2 separate regions of the Homo sapiens genome follow, and region 1 is linked to region 2. The links are contacts of gene promoters, found by promoter capture Hi-C in human tissues and cell types (Jung and others, 2019). All regions are on one chromosome and are shown on one strand. The core of a region is centred on a gene start or on the middle of the fragment in contact, and the rest is flanking DNA. Distances in the headings are between cores, read along the strand shown. Region 1 has its middle 15 kb from the start of LINC02856. Region 2 holds the start of ANKRD12 (ankyrin repeat domain 12).

Evidence for each region. Contacts are between HindIII fragments. The study calls those that stand out against the background at their distance.
Region 1: a fragment that was not itself captured here is called in contact with the fragment with the promoter of ANKRD12 in region 2 in 1 of the 25 tissues and cell types used here (lymphoblastoid cells).

What each region holds. Positions count from the first base shown.
Region 1 is chr18:9,659,519-9,662,218 of GRCh38, forward strand. No RefSeq gene overlaps it. Among named protein-coding and RNA genes, the nearest start is that of LINC02856, 15 kb to the left of the region's middle. The HindIII fragment of the contact is 3,341 bases long and covers 1-2,700 here.
Region 2 is chr18:9,135,508-9,138,207 of GRCh38, forward strand. It overlaps ANKRD12 (ankyrin repeat domain 12), which reads left to right and starts at 1,274. Exons shown (of 13, transcript NM_015208.5): 1 at 1,274-1,458. It overlaps NDUFV2-AS1 (NDUFV2 antisense RNA 1), which reads right to left and starts at 1,213. Exons shown (of 3, transcript NR_110772.1): 1 at 857-1,213. RefSeq lists silencers at 376-549, 552-641, 992-1,341, 1,552-1,951, 1,992-2,041 and enhancers at 832-881, 1,372-1,421. The HindIII fragment of the contact is 7,523 bases long and covers 1-1,634 here.

The DNA.
Region 1 (2,700 bases), core at 108-2,607, 520 kb after region 2:
GGCCCATGTGGAGAAAAGGGGTTTACCTGTGAACTGTTACTGAGGGAAGTTGGGGCAGCAAAGCAGGCTCTCTAGTAGGACACACAGGGGTGCACTGGTGAGAAGAGAAAGCCCAGACCGCTGGCCTCATCACCCTCCCTTAATGCCTCCAACTCATGGGCTGCAGCGCTGGGGACCCTGAGATGAAGAGGTGAGTGTGGCGTGCACGAGTGCACTCGGGGTCCGGAGGAGCCGGAGTCAGGAAGTGCTTCCACCTTTCTGTCCGCATGCTGGGGGAGACCCCTTCAGAGCGGGCCAAAGCAGTACTGTATCCACTCACTGGAGACACTGTAAAGACGAGACCCCACACTCCAGTGCACTGCACCCTCAGAGCCCAGAGCCCCAGCCCAGGAGGAGGATGGGCTGCGCAGGCGTGCACGGCTCCTAGAGCATGGAGGAGCTTTGCGGACACCAAAGTCTTTGAGTTTTACGGCCCCTTGCTTGGTTACGCGGGCTGTTCGCACCGCACCTAAGCTTTAAATGTGTGAATTCCACCCAAATCTGTTCAGAAATTCTAGTTTGGGAAAAGTTATAAATAGATTTCTCATGAACACTGATGGGGAAAAAATGCACACATGTAAACGTACCCATTGGCTGAGGCTGTGAAGACAGAACTGAATAAAAAATTCTTGTTGGCACCAAATACACTGGGAGGTTTTGAAGTAAGCCTCCTGCCTGCCTGGCAAAACGGAAGTGCTGACTGAACTAAGAGTATATTATTCATACAAAAAGCGTGCTTATTGGACGAGGAAACCCTGACCTTAACACTCTTTTTTTCTATTTTTCATTTATAATATTTGATTTAATTAAGAAGCATAAGCCAGGCATGGTGGCTCAAGCCTGTAGTCCCAACATTTTGGGAGGCCGAGGCAGCAGGATTGCTTGAGGCCAGGAGTTCATGACCAGCCTGGGCGGCATAGTGGGACTTTGTCTCTATAAAAACATTTTTTTTTTAAATTAGCCAGGCATGGTGGCACATGCCTGTAGTCCCAGCTACTCAGGAGGCTGAGGTGGGAGGATTGCTGGAGCCTGGAAGATCAAGGCCGCAGTGAGCCCGTGATTGTGCCAATGCACTCCAGCCTGGGCGACTGAGCAGGCCCTGTCTCAAAATAAAAACGAAGGAAGGAAGGAGGGAAGGAAGGAAGGAAGGAAGGAAGGTAATTGTGAATGTTTTCTTGGCAATCTGGCTATCCATGTGGACATCAATGTTGACTATAAAGATCCATTTGGTACTGGGGGCAAAGTTACCAGCTCACTAATGTATGGGCAATTTTCCTAGGAAATCAGTGAGGTTCATTCAGCGTTGGGATCCAGGCTTCATCTTAAACATGGTGACGTGCTGGGCTGTGCTGATGGGGAAAAGAGGCCAGAGCTTGGCCCAAAGTCTCCACTGCCTGGGCAGGAACATTTGAAAAGCCCACACACATGGAGGAGATTGTGGACAGCTTCAGAAATCATTTTGAAGCAGTGGTTTCTCAGCTGTCTACTTACAGCTGCAGAATATGGTGAGAACATTGCCTCCATTTAATATATAATGAAGGATAGGCATTGCAAATGAATGATACGAGAGAGACATCGTCAACAAATGGCATTTACTCATTTGCTTCAAATCCTTCACTAAAAATGAATTTCATTAGAATTAGAAGCCAAGAATAAAATGGCAACCATAGAAAAGCCAGAAGAATCTGTGAAAAAGAAAAAAAAAAAAGAAAAAGACAAAAACGAAAAGCTAGAAGAGAATACAACTGAGTATTAGTGAAACCACTGGTGTGTGTGTTGGGGGTGGCATCTTTTAAGTTTAGAAGAAATCACATAGAAATAATACAGATGTGTTTGCATGATATTTTGAAATTCAATATTTGCAAAAAAAATGGCTGGGAAGTAATGAAAAGTCAATGAGAAATGATCAATTGTCTTAGATCAGGTTCCCTGGAAACCACCTCAGATGAAGCTTTGCACACAAGAAGTTTATTAGGGAGGGTTCTAGAAACAGTATCTGTGAGGCAGTGAGGGCTGCAGGACTGAGCAGAGAGCAAAGCTGGCCTGGGACGCAAGAGTGACTGAGGCCTCAGCTTGTCTTTCAGAATCATCCCAAACTAAGGCAAGGGGGTTGGTGTTCCACTGGATGGATCTTTGGGTGGCCCCTGATTGGGAGCCTAACCATGGGCAAGGCAGCTCCCTTTCCTGAAGGCATCTGCAGAGAGGGAAGCAGTTGCAAAAGTCAGCAGCTCATCCTCCTGGCAGCTGTGAGAATGACAGCATCCATCTTCAAGGGGGGTCTGGGTGGCTCACCCTAGAATTCACTGTAATTATCTAAAGGGCTCATAAAGTTAATAGAAAAAATGATGACTGTAGTAATACACACATTAATAAAGGAGACAAATAGGTAATTCTTAATTTATAAATAGGAAAATGCCCAACGTCACTAGTAATGAAAGAAGTACAAGTCAAACAAAAATAATAAAATGTAACTGTTCGCTAATTCAAATACATAAAACATAACAGGGAGTCCTAGAGGCACTGTGGGTCTGTCTGTGCACATTCCTGGTGGGGTCAATAAATAGTTATAACTGTTGGGCATTGTGTATCACACCTTTAAAAGTGTTCTTGCTCTTTGACCCAGTGATTTCCACCTCAAAAAAGTCTCCCCAGAGAGGCAAT
Region 2 (2,700 bases), core at 24-2,523:
CCAAGTGGCACAAAAAAGTAACAATGAAAATGTCCTACCCTGGAGCTCTCCTGACTTTCTCATAGGCGACTGTTTTTTTCTTTGTATTTCACATCATAAATAACCAAGTTAAATGTAACACTATTCCACCTCTAGCCATAAGGTGCTCTTTTTCTAGTCTTGTTGACCCTAAAGATTTGTAGGTGGGAGAAATCAGGAACCCAGGAAAGGAAAAACTCCTGATCTTTAATGCAGGTTTATGCTTTACATAGTAATTTGATGGGACCTCGCCGTCCCTGTCAGGTCTGAATGTCACTTCATCTGCTGTGATCACACCTGAACCCTCAGTTCATCAAGACGTTAAAGGACAGTGTAACATAAACTTGTAACTGCATGCACTAAGTCATAAACAGACGCTGTTGTTGCAGATTAACCTCTACGTAAATAACGCGCCCAGAAGGGAGTGAGTACACGCTGCTGCCACGCTGCGACGGTCAATTTTCCTCCGGCACCCTTCCTAGTACCTGAGCAGCTCCCTCTCAAATCCCCAACACTACGTGTGGGAGGGTGCACTGAATTCCTCTTTAAAAAGGCCACTGGAAGGCGTGGCTGGGAGGGGACGCGCTCTAGACCCCCTGGTGCCAGGGCAGGTGCACGCTACCGCGCTTTCGGGGCGGGGCCCAGGGCCCCACCTGAGGCGGGGGGCCGCGGGCTCTGGGCGTAGGTGCAGCTTCTCCGGCCTGGTGCGGGGCCAGACGGCCGCCGCCGGCTTAGCGGGGGAACTTCGCCTAGTCCTCGGGCTGCGGTCGCAGCGTCATTTTGCCTGAGTTGGATCACGCTCGTCCACCCACCCCGTGTAAAAATAACAGGTGAATACCCTATGTGGGGGTCCTCATCGCCGCCATTTCCAGAAGCTTCCAGTCACAGCCACTGCCACGGTCGCCACAAATGCTACTGCAGAGCCCGCTTGCCCAGCAGCGTCACCGGCGCCTGCCCTGCCTCTTCGCCCAGCCTTTGATTCCCCCTCCTTTGTCGGATAGTGTCTGCGGCGGGGAGGCGGTGACACTAGTCCGAGTGGGGCGTGGAGACCGACCAGCACGAAGGGCGGAGTTCCGGCCCGCACCCCTCCGCCGCCTGCCGCTTGGTACGTCCCGCTTCCCCGCCCTGCGGCTCGCGGAGCCTGGCTGAGCAGCAGGAGGGGCGGGCGCCGGGGGGCGGGGCGGTCACGCCGCCCGTCCCGTGCCCGCGGTAGTCACGTGTCCGCGGGTGTCACGTGCTCGCGTCGCAGCCAATCGCGGGGCGACGCTGTCCTGGGAGCGAGGAGGCTGTGGTGAGAGACGGACCGAGACCGGAGATGTTTTCAAGCCCGGCTCCGGCGGCTTTACAGGCGGCTGCAGCGGCGACGAAGACAACGACAGCGACGGCTACGCCGAAGCACTCGTTCCGGGGGTGAAGCCTCCTGCGCCGGCCTTGCCTCGGGTCCGTACGGGTGAGGGGGGCGTGGCGACAGGAAAGGAGGAAGGAGGGGCGCGGTTTCGAGCTTGTCCCCGGCGCCAGGGAGGAGATCCCCTCAGTTCTGCGCTGCTCCCGTTCCCCCTCCCCAGAGCAAGGTAGGGGACGCGCCCTGCCCGCCCCCCCCGGTCCCGACGCGCCGCCCGCCCAGCCTGGCCCGAGCCGTAGCTCGCCTGACAGTGACAGGCCGTTAGTGCCCCCCGGCGCGGGTCCGCCGGGGCCCCGCCCGCCGCCGCCCCTCCCGGCGTCGCGAGGAGCCGCGGCGCAGGTGGGAGCCGCCAACTGGGCGGGGGCGCTGCGCGGGGCGGGGCGGGGGCCGGGCGGAGGGCCGCGAGCTGGCCTCGTCGCGGGCGCCCCTCACCGCGGCTGGCGGGGCTGGGCTGCCGCCGCCTCCCGGAACATGGCGGGGCCGGAGGAGCGTGTGCGTGCGAGTGTGAGTGTGCGCGGCCGAGAGGGCGCCGCTGGCGTGCGGCGGTCGGACCCGCGGGGGCGGGGGCGCGCCCGGCCCGCCGCGCGTTCCCGCCGCCAGCCGCCGAGCGTGCGCCGACGCCGGGGAGTCTGCCGCGGCCGCTCGGGCCGGGAGCGTCGGAGGTACCCGGGTCCTGGGAGAGGTGGATGAAATCAAGAAGGGGAAATTGCTGCTTTAGTAGTGTCCGGGGAAAGAGCAGCCACTCTACAGTTCTGTCTTAAATGCCAGTGTAAAATAACCTTGCCGCATTGGACAGGCAGTTCCCGTCATCGTTTTTCAAGTACCCACTTGTGATGCTTCAAGACCCCTGGAGCACGTCAGGTTCTTAGATCTCGTTTTGAGGAGTGATGTGGAGTGACGCATCCTTACAGATCCCAAAGCGTTGAATAAACGGTTGTACAAAGAGGTATGCGAAGCTTAGCTGACAGCTGTTTTAGTAATAACAGTAAGACGCTGTCTGGGATAGGAAGTTACTGTTGCACTCGTTGAAACCTTAGGAAACATTTAAAGCAGTGTAGTCACCGGGATTGTAATTTCCACTGGACACCCGTGGTTAAACTGCGAACTAAGGTGAAGTGTGTTGCAGATCCAGTGCTGTGTATGTAATGGTTCGGAATTACCTCTAATCCTAAAGTTGAAATGAGCCTGCATCTGCAGTCATGTATTTCGTTTTCATTTTAGAATGGTTTATGTAAATTATAAAGAAAGGCTAGTGAAATAGCTATTTTATCGTAAATTAA